Linked DNA regions of Homo sapiens: regions 2, 3 and 4 are each linked to region 1. Evidence: promoter capture Hi-C in 16 types of primary human blood cells and fetal thymus (Javierre and others, 2016). All regions are on one chromosome and are shown on one strand. Each heading gives the region's core, a stretch centred on a gene start or on the middle of the fragment in contact. The rest is flanking DNA. Distances are from core to core; before and after follow the strand shown.

The links. Contacts are between HindIII fragments. The CHiCAGO score rates a contact against its expected background, and 5 or more counts as called.
Region 2: a contact is called between a fragment that was not itself captured here and the fragment with the promoter of TRIAP1 in region 1, in 2 of 17 cell types (megakaryocytes and erythroblasts). The highest score is 6.1, in megakaryocytes.
Region 3: a contact is called between a fragment that was not itself captured here and the fragment with the promoter of TRIAP1 in region 1, in 2 of 17 cell types (M0 macrophages and endothelial precursors). The highest score is 5.6, in M0 macrophages.
Region 4: a contact is called between a fragment that was not itself captured here and the fragment with the promoter of TRIAP1 in region 1, in 1 of 17 cell types (megakaryocytes). The highest score is 5.0, in megakaryocytes.

What each region holds. Positions count from the first base shown.
Region 1 is chr12:120,444,437-120,449,397 of GRCh38, forward strand. It overlaps TRIAP1 (TP53 regulated inhibitor of apoptosis 1), which reads right to left and starts at 1,948. Exons shown (of 2, transcript NM_016399.3): 1 at 1,790-1,948; 2 at 1-519. The coding sequence starts at 1,936. The coding sequence ends at 436. It overlaps GATC (glutamyl-tRNA amidotransferase subunit C), which reads left to right and starts at 2,008. Exons shown (of 4, transcript NM_176818.3): 1 at 2,008-2,125; 2 at 2,221-2,393. The coding sequence starts at 2,045. RefSeq lists enhancers at 1,130-1,977, 1,289-2,488, 1,703-2,252, 1,850-2,144, 1,978-2,823. The HindIII fragment of the contact is 13,544 bases long and covers 572-4,961 here.
Region 2 is chr12:120,321,459-120,326,419 of GRCh38, forward strand. It overlaps PLA2G1B (phospholipase A2 group IB), which reads right to left. Exons shown (of 4, transcript NM_000928.3): 2 at 4,403-4,562; 3 at 3,476-3,603; 4 at 657-859. The coding sequence ends at 735. Among named protein-coding and RNA genes, the nearest start is that of PLA2G1B, 3.8 kb to the right of the region's middle. RefSeq lists an enhancer at 4,218-4,277. The HindIII fragment of the contact is 7,122 bases long and covers 1-4,961 here.
Region 3 is chr12:120,562,572-120,567,532 of GRCh38, forward strand. RNF10 (ring finger protein 10) reads left to right here. Exons shown (of 17, transcript NM_014868.5): 8 at 374-499; 9 at 776-1,052; 10 at 1,239-1,372; 11 at 2,501-2,618; 12 at 2,857-2,958; 13 at 4,254-4,409. Among named protein-coding and RNA genes, the nearest start is that of POP5, 16 kb to the right of the region's middle. The HindIII fragment of the contact is 4,928 bases long and covers 1-4,459 here.
Region 4 is chr12:120,339,286-120,344,246 of GRCh38, forward strand. It overlaps MSI1 (musashi RNA binding protein 1), which reads right to left. Exons shown (of 15, transcript NM_002442.4): 15 at 2,045-3,820. Among named protein-coding and RNA genes, the nearest start is that of PLA2G1B, 14 kb to the left of the region's middle. The HindIII fragment of the contact is 1,933 bases long and covers 1,120-3,052 here.

The sequences.
Region 1 (4,961 bases), core at 698-3,197:
AGCATTAGTTCCCTGAGAGGAAAAAAAGAGGTCCTAACCAATTGCTTTCATAAATAGTGACCCCAGTACAGTGTATATGTCTTTTGCAGCAGAAATCAAGAGGTCAGGCAGCTCTGCTCATCCTGACTAGTTTATCATCGTTTGCATACAAGGTATATTTATGTAAAGCTGATTCCACGCCAAGTATTGCAACCATAATCTCAAAAAAATTGTTCAATTTTAGCACACAGTTCCTGCAAGATACCACAGCAGGTGAGAAATCATCTCAAAGAGTTCATCTTTTACAACTGAGAGGAAAACATCGAAGGAGGAAATAAAACTCCTCTCTCCTAAGTTCCTCATCAAATCTGATGGCTATGTTCACAGAGTTAGTTGACAAAAATCCAGAGTCCTCAATTTCTGGACTTGCGAAATCCTTCAAGGTGACTGTCAAGGTCAAGAAGAATTTTCAGGCTTTTCTTTGCCATGGCCCATGAACTCCAGTCCTTCAATAGGAATCTCTTTCTCCTTTATTGCTTTCTGGTAGGAGGAGAAAACACATTATAAAGACCTACATGAAGCTTAAGTTGCAAGCTTTGTAAATAAAATATGACAGTACAAAAGTAAAATCAAGCTGATTATAAAGACTTATAACCATGATTCAAACCACATACTTTTTAAAAAACAAGTACCGGTCAGGTGTGGTGGCTCACGCCTATAATCGCAGCATTTTGGGAGACCAAGGCAGGTGGATCACTTGAGGCCAGAAGTTAGAGACCAACCTGGCCAACATGGCGAGACCCTGTTTATACTAAAAATACAAAAATTAGCTGGGCATGGTGGCGCATGCCTGTAAGCCCAGCTACTCGGGTGGCTGAGGCATGAGAATAGCTTGAACCTGGGAGGCGGAGGTTGCAGTGAGCTGAGATTGTGCCATTGCACTCCAGGCTGGGAGACAGAGTGAGACTCTGCCTCAAAAATAAATAAAAACCAGAAGTACCATAATGAATAAATCAAGTGTAAGACCTGAGGGAGACTGGAAAAGGAGTTGTGAGGGAACCGTTAAAATTAAGTGAAATTTGAAAAATAATCATCACTTTGTGTTAGTGAAAGACTTAGGTTCAAATCTGGGTTCCAGGACTTACTGGCTATGTGACTAACTGTAAATGGGATGAAGACAGCAACTACCTCGGGGAATTGCTGTGAGGATGTGTTGGGTTAACTTATTGGAAGTGCTTTGCCCGGTGCTGTTCTTAACAATTCAAAGCAGTTCCACATCCATTGGGCCAGAATAAACATTTCCTGGCTGCAGTTGCGGGGACTGGTCAAGAGAGAGAAACAGGCTAACGAAGGGTTTATAACAACAAAAAAATGTGACCCTCCAGTCTGAATTCTGAAGTATAATCCCGCCCAGACCCCAGCAGTAATAGTGGAAAAGTGCACCACCTGCGAAAGAACCAAGGAAACCTGATGCTAGTGAACTCGGATTAATCACTTCCTATTTCTGGGTGTTAGTTTTTTATGTATAAAATATGAGTAACTATGCCCACCTTGCGAGTTTAGGGTGAACACCAAATGAACCAAAGGATGTGACTGTGCTTCTTGAAAAGCACTGCCCCAATATTTGTCATTCGGAGAGACACCCAAGTGGCCTCGGTGGTGATGGTAGGGGAGCGAGCTCCTGCCACTGGCCTCACTGCGACTTTTCTCCACCCTTCCAGTCCAGTCCCAATCCCCGTAAAATACGATGAGTGTGGTGGGACACAGCGCCGAGAATGCAGGGCCTGGGAACAGAGGCGGGAGGGCTCACCTGAACACACTGCTGGTAGCGCTTGAAGAGGTCGGTGCACGGGTCCCCGGAGCTGTCCCCCTTGAGAAATTTCTCGGCGAACCAGCGATTGAAGCACTGGTCGTACTCGCGCTTCATGTCCGTGCATGCCTCCCCCACACTGTTCATGGCGACAGTGGTGGCGGCGGCGACGACGGCGCACTCTGATGTCATCACTCTCAGGCGCGTCGCTCGGCGTTACGCGCGGGCGCACTGCGGGGGCCAAGGAAGGAAGAAATGTGGTCGCGGTTGGTGTGGCTGGGCCTTCGGGCCCCTCTGGGCGGGCGCCAGGGCTTCACCTCCAAGGCGGATCCTCAGGTAAAGGCCAGGGCCATCTAGGCGGGTGGCGGAGCAAGCCGGGAGGCACTTCGGAGCGCCGGTGACCCACACTCCCCGCCTCATCCCTCCTCCAGGGCAGTGGCCGGATCACGGCTGCGGTGATCGAGCACCTGGAGCGTCTAGCGCTTGTGGACTTCGGCAGCCGCGAGGCAGTGGCGCGACTGGAGAAAGCTATCGCCTTCGCCGACCGGCTACGCGCCGTGGACACAGACGGGGTGGAGCCCATGGAATCGGTCCTGGAGGACAGGTAAACTCGCGGCTGCAGCCCCGAAGCCTTGACCGTGGCCCGTTCGCAGCCGTTTAATGTGACGATTAGCGAACAGTTTTCCAGGGGGTTAAAGAGTGTTAGCAAGATTCAGGAACTTGCCCACAGTCACCTCGCGAGTCAGTGGCTTCACTCTTCCCCTTGTTCATTACTGATGCTCTCGCTAGTGTAAGTGGAAACAAAACCCGAACTGCTAATCACTGCCTTTGTTTTTTTTTTTGTTTGTTTGTTTTGTTTTTTTTTTTTTGAGACGGAGTCTCGCTGTGTTGCCTAGGCTGGAGTGCAGTGGCTCGATCTCGGCTCACTGCAACCTCCGCCTCCCGTGTTCAAGCAATTCTCTGCCTCAGCCTCCCGAGTAGCTGGGATTACAGGCGACTGCCACCAGGCCCGGCTTATTTTTTTTGTATTTTTAGTAGAGACGTGGTTTCACCATCTTGGCCAGGTTGGTCTTGAACTCCTGACCGTGATCCACCCGCCTCGGCCTCCCAAAGTGCTGGGATTACAGGTGTGAGCCACCGCGCCTGGCCTAATCATCGCCTTTAAGGCCCTACTCCATAGAGTCCCTACCTACTCACTCCAACGTACTCTTCTCAGTACTCTCCTTGGCTACCTTGACTGCTTCTCCAGCAAGACAAGTTCTTTTCCTCTCTAGATCTCTGCACTGGCCCTTCGTTTTTTTCCTTCCTCTCAGTATTTGCATGGCTGCCTCCCTCTTGGCACAGGTCTCAGCTTATCTTCTCAGAAAGGGCTCTCCTAACCACTCCAAATCCCTTCTCCCCTTCTAGTTAGTAACTCATCCTATTGGGTTTTTTCCCTAACATTTTAATGGACTTTTGTTCATTTGTTATATCTCTTTTATTAAAATGTGAGCTCATTATGTAGTTACTGTTTTATTCCTGCCTTGAATTTTTATTTTATTTGTTTTTGAGATGGAGTCTCACTCTATCACCCAGGTTAGAGTGCAGTGGCATGATCTCAGCTCATTGTAATGTCCACCTCCCAGACTCAAGAGAGCCTCCCATCTCAGCCTCCCAAGTACAGGACCACAGGCGCGTGCCACTTGGCCTGGCTAATTTTTTGTATTTTTGATAGAGACGGGATTTTGCCATGTTCCCCAGGCTTGTCTGGACTCCTGAGCAAAGGTGATCCACCCATCTCAGCCTCCTAAAGTACTGGGATTACAGGCATGAGCCACAGCACCTGGCCGTGTTTGATTCTTTCAAATGTCTTCTCTACTTTGCAATTTTCTTTTTCCTTTGGGACGGGGTCTCACTATGTTGCCCAGGCTGGTCGCAAACTTCTAGACTCAAGAGATCCTCCTGCCTCAGCCTCCCAAATAGCTGGGACTATAGGTGTGCACCACCACACCTGGCTAATACTTAAAATTTTTGTAGAAACGGGGTCTTGCCATGTTGCCCCATATGGTCTCAAACTCCTGGTCTCAAGCAATCCTCCTGCCTCAGCCTCCCACTTCCTCAAGAAAGTTTTTTTTTTTTTTTGAGGTGGAGTCCTGCCCCATCACCCAGGCTGGAGTGCAGTGGCATGATCTTGGCTCACTGCAACCTCCACCCTCCAGGTTCAAGTGATTTTTGTGCCTCAGCCTCCGGAGTAGCTGGGATTACAGGCACCCGCCACCACACTCAGCTAGTTTTTGCATTTTTAGTAGAGACAGGGTTTCACCATGTTGACCAGGCTGGTCTCGAACCCCTGGCCTCAAGTGATCCGCCCATCTTCGCCTCCCAAAGTGCTGGGATTACAGGTATGAGTCACTGCACTGGCCAAAAAAGTCCATTCCTTTTTTTTTTTTTTTTTTTTTGAGACGGAGTTTCACTCTTCCACCCAGGCTGGAGTACAGTGGTGCAATCTCAGCTCACTGCAACCTCCACCTTCCGGTTTCAAGTGATTCTCTTGCCTCAGCCTCCCGAGTAGCTGGGACTACAGGCGCCCGCCACCACGCCCAGCTAATTTTTGTATTTTTAATAGAGACGGGGTTTCACCATGTTGGCCAGGCTGGTCTCGAACTCATGACCTCACAGTCCACCCGCCTCGGCCTCCCAAAGTGCTGGGATTATAGGCGTGAGCCACAAGTCTTCATTCTTTTATACTTAGGTTCTTTTTTTTTTTTTTTAATTGAGACAAGAGTCTCGCTCTGTCGCTGAGGCTGGAGTGCAGTGGCGTGATCTTGGCTCACTGCAAGTTCCGCCTCCTGGGTTCATGCCATTCTCCTGCCTCAGCCTCCCAAGTAGCTGGGTCTACAAGTGCCCACTACCACGCCTGGCTAATTTTTTGTATTTTTAGTAGAGATGAGGTTTCACCGTAGCCAAGATGGTCTCGATCTCCTGACCTCGTGATCTGCCCACCTCAGCCTCCCAAAGGTGCTGATTACAGGCGTGAGCCACTGTGCCTGGCTATACTTAGGTTCTCTACCTGTGGCTCTCGTGATATCCAAAAGGGCTGATTTATACATGCGTTTATACATCTATTTAAGGGATGTGTTGAGTCTCTGCCCCTCTCCTGCTCACCCACCTTCCACAGCATGTCTGTTTTTCC
Region 2 (4,961 bases), core at 1,226-3,725, 120 kb before region 1:
CGAGTTCAAATTCCTTCTCTGCTGCTTACTAGATGATAGCATTGGAAAAGTGACCTCTCCTATTGAGCCTCAGCTTAGGAAAATAAGATTTGCTAATAGCGCCAATACCTCACAGGGCTGTCAAGAGGATTTATGGACACACAGTCCTGGTACAGAGTAAATAATCAGTAGATGGTGATCGTTAATCATTACTCAGGTTTCAAGGTGCTTGCTTGCTTCCTGGAAGTGTCTTTCTAATTCAACTTAGCTTCCAAGGCTGGAAGAAATGATACTCACAAAAGACTAGGCAGAGTAGCCAGGCGCGGCGGCTCATGCATGTAATCCCAACACTTTGCGAGGCCGAGCCAGGCAGATCACTTAAGCTGAGGAGTTTGAGACCAGCCAGGGCAACATGGCGAAACTCTGTCTCTACAAAAAATACAAAAATTAGCCAGGCATGGTGGTGCATGCCTATGGTCCCAGCTACTCGGGAGGATGAGGCGGGAGGATTGCTTGAGCCCGGGAGGCGGAGGTTGCAGTGAGGCAAGGTGGCATCACTGCACTCCAGCCTGGGCCACAGAGCAAGACTCCACCTAGAAAAAATAAATACATAAAAATAAAAGAGTAGGCAGAGACCTAGTTTATAGACAGAGAATAAAACAATATCCAAACATGAGGTCTTTCAACAAGGTGCTTTATTGGAGAGTACAGTGTGAGATGAGGCAGATAGAGGTGATGCTTTTGAGAGGTGATATTCAACTCTGACAATACTTCTTGGTGTCCAGGTTCTTGTGTGCCTTGTTATATGGAGCTTTTGAAAAGCAGATGGCAGCGTTGCGGTCGCAGTTGCAAATGAAGGCCTCACACTCTTTGTTTTTGCCTGGAGAGGGATGAAAGGAGAGGACTGAGCCAAGGTGGACCCTGTTTTGTACAATCTGGGGCAAGAAGAATTAACTGGAATAAGCTGGCAGCCATTCCACTGATGCACATTTAGGGCTGACAGATTAAGTGAATACAAGTACATCAGGATGCCCAGTTAAATTTGACTTTCAGATAAACAATGAATGCAATATTTGGGACATATACCCCCCAAAAAATTATCCATTGCTTATCTGAAAGTCATATTTATCTGGGCATCCTGTGTTTTTTTGTTTTGTTTTGTTTTTAAGACGGAGTTTCCCTTTTGTCGCCTAGGCTGGAGTGCAGTGGCGTGATCTCAGCTCACTGCAACTTCTGCCTCCTGAGTTCAAGTGATACTCCTGCCTCAGACTCCTGAGTAGCTGGGACTACAGGTGCTCGCCACCATGCCCAGCTAATTTTTGTATTTTTATTAGAGAGGGTGTTTCATCATGTTGTCCAGGCTGGTCTCAAACTCCGGACCTCAAGTGATCCATTTGCCTCGGCCTCCCAAAGTGCTGGGATACAGGCGTGAGCCACCATGCCCAACCTAGTTTCTCTACTTTAAAGCATGTATTTTAAAAATTATGGAACATCCTTAAATGGAATACTACATAGACATTTAGAAAAATTAGGTATGCCTGCACATGGAAATTTTCCCAAATAAAAAAAGCTAGTGTATGCCCCAAAAATCTGGAGGAATATGTAACTGGTTATCTTTGGGTAGTAGGATTATAGATGCCTTCCACTTTCCATAATAGATATTTATGTAGAGTTTGAAGTTGCATTACTTTTGGCTTGTTTACTTTTATAACCAAAATAAACAATAAGATTACAGTTAAAATGCATTTAAACTTTATTACATATAATTTACGTATCTCTGCTTACCTTCAGGAATCTTATTAGTTTTGTTTCTCTCCGATCCTTTATTTTATTTATTTATTTTTTTGAGATAGAGTCTCGCTGTGTCGCCCAGGCTGGAGTGCAGTGGTGGGATCTCGGCTCACTGCAACCTCTGCCTCCCAGGTTCAAGCAATTCTCTTGCCTCAGCCTCCCGAGTAGCTGGGACTACAGGCATGCATCACTACACCCAGCTAATTTTTGTATTTTTAGTAGAGATAGGGTTTCACCATATTGACCAGGCTGGTCTCGAACTTCTCACCTCAAGTGATCCACCCACCTTGGACTTCCAAAGTACTGTGGTTACAGGCTTGAGTCACTGTGCCCAACTGAGTTATTTTTAATTAATATGAACAAACATCCTCTAATGCAGGTTTCTTGTCTTAGTTGCAAACATTAAAAAAAAACTGTGTGTGAGTGTGTGTGTGTGTGTGTATTTCTCTGGGGAGAGGGTTCATAGCTTTCATCAGATTTGTAAATTTGGCCTTCTAAAGTGGAGCAGGAGGATGTATAAGCAAATTAAGCCATATTATTCAGTGACTAAAATAGTAACAATGAAAAAACAGTAACAATAAAGGTTTGAGGCAATATGAAAAAGTCATAACAAGGTGATAAGTGAAAAAGCAGAATGCAAGATTGTATTTATTCTGCAAAGTTGTCAAGATTGTTTTAAAAAAAGAAAAAGAAAGTTTATATCTAGGCTGTGCATTCATCAATTATTTATTGAGCACCTACTATATGTCAGACACTGCTCTAGATCTGGGGATATAGCAATAAAGAAAATAGACAGTAATCGGCCAGGCACAGTGACTCACGCCTATAATTCCAGCACTTTGGGAGACTGAGGCAGGCAGATCACTTGAGGTCAGGAGTTTGAGACCAGCCTGGGCAACATGGTAAAACCCCATCTCTGCTAAAAATACAAAAAATTAGCCAAGCATGGTGGTGCACGCTTGTAATTCCAGCTACTCAGGAGGCTTAGGCAGGAGAATCGCTTGAACCCGGGAGGCAGAGGTTGCAGTGAGCTGAACGGAGGTTGAGGTGATGAAGTGAGACTCTGTCTCAAAAAAGAAAGGAAGAAAATAGGCAGTAATCCCTGTTCTGTGGATCTTACATTCTATTGGAAAGATGGAATGTAAAGAAATAAGTAGCCGCACATGGTGGCTCACCCCTGTAATCCCAGCACTTTGGGATGCCAAGGTAGGAGGATTGCTTGAAGCCAGGAGTTTAAGACAAGCCTGGCCAACGTAGTAAGACCCAGTCTCTACAAAAAAATTTTTTTAATTAGCCAGGCGTGGTGGTGCACGCTCGTAGTCCCAGCTACTTGGGAGGCTGAGGTCAGCAGATCCCTTGAGCTCAGGAGGTTGAGGCTGCAGTGACCTATGGTTGCACCACTGTGCTCATGCCTGGGTGACAGAGCAAGACCCTGTCTCTAAACAACAACAAAAAAAAACCCAAACTGTCACCACTTACAAGCTGTGTGATCTTGGGCAAATAGCTCAGCCTTCTGAGCCTCAGTTTTCTTATCTGTTAAGTGAGGATAATTGTACCTATCCCATAGTGTTGTTCTGAGGATTAAAGGAGACACTGCCCAGAACCAAGAAAATTAACACTAAATCATGGCTGTTGTTACTATTATTTCCCCCCGGCCTACTGAGAACCAACTAGAATTCATAGGTCAAGGAAGGGATAAACCTACTGCTACAGGTGATTGCCGAGCCAGAGCACGAGTATGAATAGGTGTGGGTGTACGGGTTGTCCAGCAGAAATTTACAGCTGTCCAGCTTCTTGGCCTGGTCATAGCAGTTGTCATGTGTCTGGCAGCACCTGGAAAGTGGGAGGGACAGCTGAGATAGGAGTAAGTGCAGAGCAATAGGTCAGCCCTCACCTGCCCACTCTCAGGAACAGGTGGGGATGACTTCGCCAAGATGCTTCAGGAGAAATGATCCTATGGCTTGAAAAAATATAAGTCCTTTTATCATATATTTATTGAAAGCATTTTTTTTTTTTGAGACAGAGTTGCTCTGTTACCCAGGCTGGACAGCAGTGACACGACCTTGGCTCACTGAAACCTCCAACTCAGTCTCCCAAGTAGCTGGGGTTACAGGCGCTCGCCACCATGTCCGGCTAATTTTTGTATTTTTTAGTAGAGACAGGGTTTCACCATGTTGGCCAGGCTGGTCTCGAACTCCTGACCTCAAGTGATCCGCCCGCCTCGGCCTCCCAAAGTGCTGGGATTACAGGCATGAGCCACCGCGCCTGGCCTGAAAGCGATTTTTAACATGGTTGCAAGAATACAGTAAAATCCTGTATTCAGAAGGTGCAGTGACAACCACTGCTAGAAAATGACACGTGGATAGTTGCTGTGATGTTTACTGTTGCTACATTCTGCCACTGGAGGGCAGCATCGCCCACTGTTTTGCACGTCGGTCATTGTTTCCATCTCTAACGGGGTGCGTTCGCTACAGGGTCCTCTTGGAACATATTTGTTTATTTGACAAGAGGTGAAAATATGTTATCCTTAGCAGATATGCAAGTCCCCTTTGTATGCCTCGTGAGATCCTTGGCGTGTGCCCCACCCCGCCCCCGGCAGGCACTCCAATTTTCCTGCAGGCGGATCACTTACTTGTCCAGTTCATCCACGGGGGTGCCTGAGCCCCCCAAGCCACAGTAGCAGCCGTAGTTGTTGTATTCCAAGAAGGGGTCACTCCCCGGGATCACGCACTTGATCATTTTGCGGAACTGCCACACGGCCCGAGGGCTGATGCCGCTGTCGGCGGCGGCCACTGCAAGAAGACATAGCCAGAGTTCAAATCGGTCTGCCAGCACCCCGGGGACACACTGCCTTCCTGCTCCCTCGGGTCCCACGCTGCCTCCCTGACCCCTGCCAGCTGCCTCCTCTGAAGACCGTTGGACCCAGGAACCTGGTAAAGTGAAAGTGGGTAGAGGTTTTTTTTTTTTTTTAATGAAAACTTTATATATATAAAGTTTATATCTTTGTGTGTGTGTATATATATATATATCTTCTTCTTTTTCTTCTTCTTCTTCTTCTGGGACCCTACCGCCTCAGCTAGGATTACAGGCATGTGCCACCCAGCTAGGCCTGATAGTTTTTTTTTTTTTTTTGAGATGGAGTCTTGCTCTGTTGCCCAGGTTGGAGTGCAGTGACACGATTTCAGCTCACT
Region 3 (4,961 bases), core at 746-3,245, 120 kb after region 1:
CCGTATGTGTCTTTACAGTAGAATGATTTATATTCCTTTGGCTATATACCCAGTAATGGGATTGCTGGGTGAAATTTTATTTCTGTCTTTAGGTCTTTGAGGAATCACCACACTGTCTTCCACAATGATTGAACTAATTTACACTCCCCAGTGTCAGATTCTAAGCAGATTCCAATCCTTAGTGGGTATTGCATGCTTTTTGCTTCCTGTTTCCCTCAAAGTTGAGATATTTAAGCACCTAATTCCTTCCCATTGGGTCTCATTGCCTTTTAACTTTTGGTCCTGTTGAGAGGCCATTCTAAGCCCTTGCCCTTCAAGCTAAGTGTGTGTCTGGAAACTTAACCTTCTCTGGTGTTCTCTCTGGCCACGTTAGACTCGGGAAGAGGCTCTGTCGGGATTGGCCGGAAGCAGAAGGGAGGTCACTGGTGTTGTGGCTGCTCTGGAACAACTGGTGCTGATGGCTCCCTTGGCGAAGGAGTCTGTTTTTCAACCCAGGAAGGTTAGTGTGTTCCTGTTACTAAGTGGCTGCCGTTCCTCAAATGCTGTCATTGAGCTGGTAGGCATTACTGTGAGATCTAAACCTTCTCAAGAGAAGAGGGGACAATGAGTATTTTCTGTATGCTTGTTATTAGTTCTTTCCCCAGGGGTGTTAAATCAGTGAACACGACAGCTAAGATAAACATCTAGGGAGCTTGGCTCTTAGGTCTGCATTTGCCACATTGCTTTCGGAAAGCAGGAGATATCCTTTCTGTTGACTTAGAGTTTGCTGCAACAGGGTGTGCTGGAGTATCTGTCTGCCTTCGATGAAGAAACCACGGAAGTTTGTTCTCTGGACACTCCTTCTAGACCTCTTGCTCTCCCTCTGGTAGAAGAGGAGGAAGCAGTGTCTGAACCAGAGCCTGAGGGGTTGCCAGAGGCCTGTGATGACTTGGAGTTAGCAGATGACAATCTTAAAGAGGGGACCATTTGCACTGAGTCCAGCCAGCAGGAACCCATCACCAAGTCAGGCTTCACACGCCTCAGCAGCTCTCCTTGTTACTACTTTTACCAAGGTGAGGGTGCCGGAAGAGAGGGCTGGGTTGCCGCAGAGGTGTTTCAGAGGTGACCCGGTGCTCTAAGCAGAGGAGCGCCACTAGATCCTGTGGCTTGGGTGGCTTGAGCCCTTGGGCATGGGGAGGGGTGGGGAGCCTCCTGGGGACTGGCCAAGACTGGTGTGTGATAGAGCCCCTTGTCCTCAGCGGAAGATGGACAGCATATGTTCCTGCACCCTGTGAATGTGCGCTGCCTCGTGCGGGAGTACGGCAGCCTGGAGAGGAGCCCCGAGAAGATCTCAGCAACTGTGGTGGAGATTGCTGGCTACTCCATGTCTGAGGTGAGGCCTTCCTGTAGAAATGGAGGGTCAGGCAGCAGTATTAACCTAATCTCTTTGAGGTAGGCCTAGCCATCCTAAGTTCACAAACCTTCAAGGCCTTTAGTTTTTGTATTTTTAGTCTTTCTGTCAGTGATGGTGCTGTGAATTCTTTGTAAGTGAAGTGTCCCCTCAGCATGCCAGGGTTCTGTTAAATCAGTTAATGCTGTTCCCTGCTTCTCTGGTTCATTGATTGTAGTTTGGGGATATAGATATTTCTTTTATTTAAGATGGAGTTTATTTTTGTTTCTTATCCTCCTTATTGCTTGGGAGAAATGTCACAAATTTGTTGTAAGATTTAAAATTAGACTCTTTGAGTACTATAAATTTTTCATCAAACATATGCAGAAAAAGAATAGAAATGAAAATAAATGGGCTGGATGTGGTAGCTCACACCTGTAATCCCAGCACTTTTGGGAGGCCTACTCAGGCAGATTGCTTGAGGCTAGGAGTTTCAGACCAGCCAGGGCATTTCTACAAAAAATACAAAAAAAAATTAGCTGGGTATGATGATGTGCACCTGTTGTCCCAGCTCCTCAGGAGGCTGAGGCAGAAGGATCACCTGAGCTGGGGAGATCAAGTCTGCAGTGAGCTGGCCTGGGCGGCAGAGCAAGACCATGTCTCAGAAAAAAAAAATTGGGCTTCATTTTCTACTATTTCAGGCCAAGTGTCTTTCAATAGGGAGATCTGCTTTATCTTCCTTCCCAGTTATTTATTCTGTCAGTGGTTCCCAGGTTTTTTTCTGTTCTGTTTTTCTGCCAACAAATAACTTTATCTTCTCTGTTCGTCCCCCTCAGCTGTGGGGCCTTGAAAAAATCAGAAACAGCTGATGGGCTTTAGATTATTTGTTGCTGGACTCAGTTCACTCCTTTGCAGTACAAACCAAAAATAACTGGATTTGGTTGCTTATTCCACCTTGCTGTAGGTTGACAGTTTCTCTTTGGCTTTTCAAAATGAGGATAATTGAGCACTACTGTTTCCAGCCCCAGTGCTGGCTGTGTTATGTATATATTGTTGGATATCGGGGTTAGGACCCCCTGCTTTCAGAGTTAGGCTTGCTTTTGTTGAGTATTGGTCCTTTTTCCAATGTAGGATGTTCGACAGCGTCACAGATATCTCTCTCACTTGCCACTCACCTGTGAGTTCAGCATCTGTGAACTGGCTTTGCAACCTCCTGTGGTCTCTAAGGAAACCCTAGAGATGTTCTCAGGTGAGAATGCCCCTGCTCTGCTTCTCTTTATAGTAGGGTTCAGGGATTCTTGTGGCTAGACACCCAGTGGGGGAGGAAACTTATGGAACTGTATCATGAGTCTTAGTACCTCCTAAACACTTCATCTGTTCATCTAGTCCAGCTGGGCCTACTGTTGTGGGTTTAGCTGCTAATACTGGGAGGAGGTAATGACCATGTTGTCCTGGGTCTACCTCTTTACAACCTGACCAATCTGCAGATGACATTGAGAAGAGGAAACGTCAGCGCCAAAAGAAGGCTCGGGAGGAACGCCGCCGAGAGCGCAGGATTGAGATAGAGGAGAACAAGAAACAGGGCAAGTGTAAGTTCAGGAACTTTCATCTTTGACTAGCACTGCTGTACGTCGTTGTATAGAACTCTGTGTCTGGGACCTGGGAGCCAGACCTTAGCCACTTGTTTTCTTCAACTTTTAAATGTGAATCATGAGAGCACCTCCTTAATAGGCTTGCTTGCAAATATAATGAGTTAATATGGGTCAAAGTGCCTAGCACATAGTAAGGATTAAGAGGAAATTCAGCCTTGGTAATAGTGGGTGATATACACCTGTTCCAGAGATGGGAATTGGGGCTTCGCTAAGAATGCTGGGGGCCATCGTTCCCCATGCTCTCTGGATCACTGACCTTACCTCTGACTCTTTATTAAAGGGACCAGCTATACACAGCAAGTCTGCCAGGTGGGTCTGATAAGATGGAAATTTTGATAGACTAGGAAATGCAGGAAGTTGGATTTAAGAGATCTTTCGTAGCAGTAAGCACAGCCTTTTGATCTGGTTCTCCAAAATAAGTTTCATTGAATCCAGGGGATTAGTGTGACCTGAGGTCCCATTATCCACTAGAACACAAGGAACTGAGTCCTTGGCCCAGAAAAGGACTTCGGTGTTTTGACTCCATATGGCATGGAAACATACATTTTATATCTCAAGTGGGACAAGTGTATACTTGGGGTCCCAACACCGTGTAGGTGTTTGGCACATGTCCTGAACTTTGAGAAAACTGATATTTCAGGAATAGGATTTTTTGTTTTCACCTTTTTATTATGGAAATATCAAGACAAGTAGAACAATGTAATTAACCTGCATGTTTGTTACCCAGCCTCAATTATGAATAGTTAGAACAAGGTTAACTATATTAAAGACATTATAGAAGGACAGTTATTGTAAATTTGGGTTTTAGCTTTTGTCTGCATCCTCTAGACCTTTGGGGGTACGCATGTGTGATGTCCTCAACTGTTGGAAACTATTTGAAAAATTCAGGCCAGGTGTGGTGGCTCACGTCTATAATCCCAACACTTTGGGAGGCCAAGGTGGGCAGATCACTTGAGCTCAGGAGTTCAAGACCAGGCTGGACAACATGGTGAAACCTCATCTCTTTAAAAATTCAAAAAATTAGCTAGGTGTGGTGGCACGTGCCTGTGGTCCCGGCTACTCGGGAGGCTGAGGTGGGAGGATCGCTTGAGCCTGGGAGGCAGAGGATGCAGTGAACAGAGATCGTACCACTACACTCCAGCCTGGGTGACAGAGTGAGACCCCATCTCAAAAAAAAAAAAAAAAAATTGAATTCTGTAAATGGGTTTACAAGGGTTATCTTTCCTTTGCAGACCCAGAAGTCCACATTCCCCTCGAGAATCTACAGCAGTTTCCTGCCTTCAATTCTTATACCTGCTCCTCTGATTCTGCTTTGGGTCCCACCAGCACCGAGGGCCATGGGGCCCTCTCCATTTCTCCTCTCAGCAGAAGTCCAGGTTCCCATGCAGGTAAACAGGTGAAATTTAATGAATTCACCCATCAGTTAGACCTTATGCAAAGCTTTGGTGTCTGAGTTTACAACCCCGGCCCACTCAGCATGGTGTGGACTTCAGGGGCATAACCTTACTTTGGTAGTCCTGAGGTACATCAAATTCTTTTATTCATCTTTCCCACTTGCTATACTGACTGCTTTACCCTGCCAGCTTCTAAGCACCTCAAGGAGCTCTTTAGGCAGGATAGTTGAAAATGGAGTCTTCCCTTTGACCCACCTATTTTTGTTTCTAGTTTTTGTTTGAGATACTCCCCTGTATGCCTAAACATCTTTGTACATGTCTCTTTATTGTAGCATCGTTTTAATAGCTCAAAAAAAAAAAACAGTTTAGAAAGCCTACCAATAAGAAAATGACTAAATTATAGTATTTATACTGTAAAATGTTTCACACCAGAAGGCCGGGCGTGGTGGCTTATGCCTGTAATCCCAGCACTTTGGGAGGCCAAGGCGGGTGGATCACGAGGTCAGGAATTCAAGACCAGCCTGACCAACACAGTGAAACCCTATC
Region 4 (4,961 bases), core at 836-3,335, 110 kb before region 1:
GAATAAATAGTCCATTGTATGGATAGATCACATTTTACGTATCCATTTATCCATTGATGGACTTTTGGGTTGTTTCTACCTTTTGGCTATCATGAATATTGCTGCTGTGAACACTGGCGTACACATATCTGTTTGAAGGGCTGGGTGCGGTGGTGCACGCCTGTAATCCCAGCAATGAGTGTGAAGTGGCATCTCATTGTCAACACTAAGCTCTGGGTCAAGTGGAAAGTAAAGACCTTCCCAGGAGGAAAGCAGGAGGGAGAAAGTGCAGAGAATATTTAAAAATATCCACTCTGATTATTTAAGTTAAAGGCACTTGAAAAACAGCAGGAACAAGATGATCACTCTCACCTTTGTGCTGTTTCTTAAAAGCAGAAGATGATGAAATTCCTGAGTGAAAGACCCCCAACCTGTACTGGAAGGAAAGGCAACATCCTTATCTTCGAGGGCGGGAAGTCGGCACCGAGATGATTCTGTGCAGGCCCTTGTTAAAGTAATTCTTTTTTTTTTTGAGACAGGGTCTTGCTCTGTCACCCAGGCTGGAGTACAGTGGTGCAATCTCAGCTCACTGCAGCCTCTGTCTCCCTGGCTCAAGAAATCCTCCCATCTCAGCCTCCCAAGTAGCTGAGACTACAGGCCTGCACCACCACACAACCGGCTAATTTTTGTATTTTTTTGTAGAGATGGGGTTTTACCATATCACCCAGGCAAGTCTCGAACTGCTGGACTCAAGGGATCCGCCTTCCTCAGCCTCCCAAAGTGTTTCGATTACAGTTGTGAGCCAACGTGCCCAGCCAAAATAGCTTTTTTTTTTTTTCTTTGAGACAGTCTCACTCCGTCACCCAGGCTGGAGTGCAGTGGCGCGACCTTGGCTCACTGCAACCTCTGCCTCCTGGGCTCAAACGATTCTTATGCCTCAGCCTCCCAAGTAGCTGGGACTACAGGTGCGTGCCACCACACCCAGCTAATTTTTTGTATTTTAGTAGAGACGGGGTTTCATGTTGCACAGGGTGGTTTCGAACACCTGAGCTCAGGCGATCCGCCCGCCTTGGCCTCCCAAAGTGCTGGGAGTATAGGCGTGAGCCACCATGCCTGGCCCAAAATAGCTGTTATCTTTTAAGCTTCTCCACATAATTGAGTGGCTTTTTCATAATTTACTATTCTTTGTCCAATCCAGTATATCAGTAACTCTAACTGCTTCTTTAGGTCTTCATTTCTCCCTCTCTCTCTCTTCTTTTTTTTTGAGAATGAGAGCATCTTGCTCTGTCCTCCAGGCTGGAATGCAGTGTCAAGAACATGGCTCACTGCAGCCTCCAACTCCCAGGGCTCAAGCAATCTTCCCACCTCTGTCCCCTGAGTAGCTGGGACCACAGGCTTGTGCCACCATACCTAAATAATTTAATATTTTATATAGATGAAGGTCTCACTAAGTTGCCCAGGCTGGTCTTGAACCCCTGGCCTCAAGCACTCCTTTTGCCTCAGCCTCCCCAAGTACTGGGATTACAGGTGTGAGCAACCACACTCTGCCTTCATTTCTTTATGGAGGCTCCCATGCCATGCACAACTTTTAATAAATAAATGTGTACGCTTTTCTCCTATTCTTTTTTTTTTTTTTTTTTTGAGACAGAGTCTCACTCTCACCCAGGCTAGAGTGCGGTGGCATGATCTCAGCTCACCGCAGCCTCCAGCTCCAGGGTTCAAGAGACTTTCCTGCCTCAGCCTCCTGAGTAGCTGGGACCACAGGCACCCACCACCACACTCGGCTAATTTTTGTATTTTTAGTAGAGATGGGGTTTCGCCATGTTGACCAGCCTGGTCTCGAACTCCTGACCTCAATTGATCTGCCCACCTCTGCCTCCCACAGTGCTGGGATTACAGGCATGAGCCACTGTGACTGACTGGCCCTGTTCATCTATCTTGTGTCAATTTAATTCTTGGATCCTGCCAGGACCCTAAGAGGATGGAGGTGAGTCCTGCCATCCCTAAAACAGGAAAATGAGGTATCCCTGAATGCACAGAGACACAAGACATTCACAAGCCCAGCAACGTTTTCAAATAATTTATTAGGAATTTAAAACTGAAAATAAAACCTGGAAAAAGAAGTTACAGATGTGGAGAGAAGAGACACCGGAGGATGGTAACTTGCTGGCTTCGAAACACCATGTAACATCTTAAAAAAAAAAAAAATCCCAAAGCAAATCAGAAAACGGAATTCCAGGGTCCTGAGCCCATGGTTGGGCCCAGTGGGGTGGAAGGGTCCGGGAATGAGGGAGAGGGAAGCTAAGTGTCTCAGGACTCAGCTCAAACGTGTAGAAAATTAAAAATAAAAACCAATAAAATGCAGCTTCTCTTTTATTAGGAAACATTAAAAAAAAAAAAAACCCAAAACACGAACAGCCGCGCATCTCAGTAACAAAGATTATTGCTTTGTGTTCTCAGGGCTGATAGGTTAAGCACCTCACACAGACAATTAACTCTCCAAAGGTGGGGTTTCCGGGTGGGGGCAATGCTGGGGAAGAGAGCTCAGGCCCTGGGCCTCATAACTGGGGGAGAGGGACACACAGAAGGGGGATGGCAGTGGGTGGGCCTTGGCCCTGCCACGCCAGCCAGGCCACTGTTCATGAAGGTCCAACGCTCTGAACCTCTCTTTTTCCTTAGAAGGGGGGTCTGGGGTGAGGGGCTGCCAAGGGACTCTGGCTGTGGGGTCATCCTGGTGGGAAACTTCAGTGAGAGAATGTGGGGGTTCCCTGAGACGCCCTTTGCTTTCCCCTGGGGTCTGCCCTCGCCAGAGCGTCCCCTGGTGCCCACTCATTGCGGGGGTCGAGGGGGAAGGGGGACAGACTGAGCAGAAACCATGAAGCCCCAACCTAGGTAGGGAGCAGGGGAGACCTTTGGAGAGTTAATTCCTGTCCAGCAGTGTCGCTGGGCAAGCCCTGCTCTTCCCACGCCCTTTGCCCCCACACTGGGTTTTTGGAGTGGGCAGGTCCAACCAAGGCCTTGACCCTGAGGGCCTGAGAGAGCGGGCCTGCCGTGGCCACAGCTGAGGCCTGCAAGCTTACAGTAACGGTGTCTGAGGGGACAGAAACAGGGGAGGGGGGAGCCCCTCACCCCCGAGGGGTCTTAGAGAGGGGTGGGCACATCACCTCACAGTATTTACATATGATACAGGACGGGATGGTTCCAGGGGCTCGGCCTGGCCTCCCCGCAGCCCTGCCCTCCTCTCCAGGGCTGGAGGGAGGCGGCCAGGGGCCCACACCCAGATAGACACTTTGTTCTCAGCTGGTGGGGGGCACCTGGCCCCTTGCCCCCTGCGGCCTGGGGCTTCACATTCACAAACCTAGAAATAGTTTAAAAAAGGTTTCTTTAAAAAAAAAAAAAAAAAAAAAAAGGGAAAGGGTAAAGGAGGGGAAATCTGAATAAAAAACAGGGGTTGGGCTGCGGCCTGTAGCAGGCTCCCTCCGCCTTCACTCCAGCTATGCACAAATCCAAAAGCCTTTTGGGGAGGGGGCGGTCCTAGGGGGGCGCGGCACGGAGGGAGGGATGGACCAGAGGGCTGGGGTGGGCAACCGGCTAATCCAAAATAAATAAAAGCAGGGCCGGGAGAGGGGCGGGTGGGGATGGGGGCAAGGGCGAAGAGGGGGACGTTAGTAGGGGAGCCAGACGCTGTTGGGGGCAGCAGGGCAGGGGCCGGGCCCGGGGAGTTGGGGGCAGGCAGTAGCGGGTCCGAGTCGCTGCAGGGGAGGGGGCGGCGGCTGCGGCTGAGGTCTCCCGCCCCCTCGCTGGCTCACTCGTGGTCCTCAGTCAGCTGCAGGCTGGGGCGCTGGGAACACAGCCAGGAGGTTATGGGGGCTCCCGGAGCACACGCAGCCCTCCCCAGTTCTCTCCCAGAAGAGCTTTGTTCGTAAACTACCTACTTTCTTCTTCTTATTTTTTTAGAGACAGAGTCCAGCTCTGTTGCCCAGGCTGGAGTGCAGTGACAGCGATCATAGTTCACTGCAGCCTCAACCTCCCTAGGCTCAAGTGATCCTCCTGCCTCAGCCTCCTGAGACTCTGGGATTACAGGTAGTATCTGGGACTACAGGTGAAAGCAAACACACTCTGCTCATTTTTGTTGTTGTAGCAGAGATGGGGATTCACTATATTGCCCAGGCTAGTCTCAAACTCTTGTCCTCAAGCCATCCTCCTGCCTTGGCCTCCCAAAGATCTGGGATTACGAATGTGAGCCACCACACCCAGCCAGACTTTGCACTTTCTGTTCCCTGGTTGGATGCCTCTTTCCCCAGATTTCGAATGGCTGGATTTATTTAAATGTCCCCTTCTCAGAGATACCTTCTCTAAACCCCACATCTAAAATAGCCCTGTCATGCACAGTCTGGAATTATCTCATATGTTCACTTGATTTTTGTCCTGTGAAATGAGAGAGGACTTTGTCTGTCTTGTTCATCCTCTTTCCTGGAATGGGGCTCATAAATGAATGGGTGAATGAACAGAATGTCATGGGCTCACAGTCTCCCACCATCTGGATAGACACTGTGATGGCCGTGTACACAGTCCCACAAGTCGAGGTATCCTGTTGTTTTTTGTTTGTTGAGGTGGAGTCTTGCTCTGTTGCCCAGGCTGGAGTGCAGTGGCCTGATCTCGGCTCACTGCAGCCTTCGCTTTCTGGGTTCAAGCGATTCTTGTCCCTCAGCCTCCCGAGTAGCTGAGATTACAAGTGCGCACCATCACGCCAGCCAAGTTTTGTATTTTTAGTAGAGATGGGGTTTTACCATGTTGTCCAGGCTGGTCTAGAACTCCTGACCTCAGGTGATCCGCCTGCCTTGGCCCCGCAAAGTGCTGGGATTATAGGCGTGAGCCACTGCGCCCGGCCAAGGTATCCTGTTTTGATAGCTGTGTACTATACCACTGTACACACACTAATTTGTTTAACCACTTTCCTTTTGATGGATATTTCAGTTATT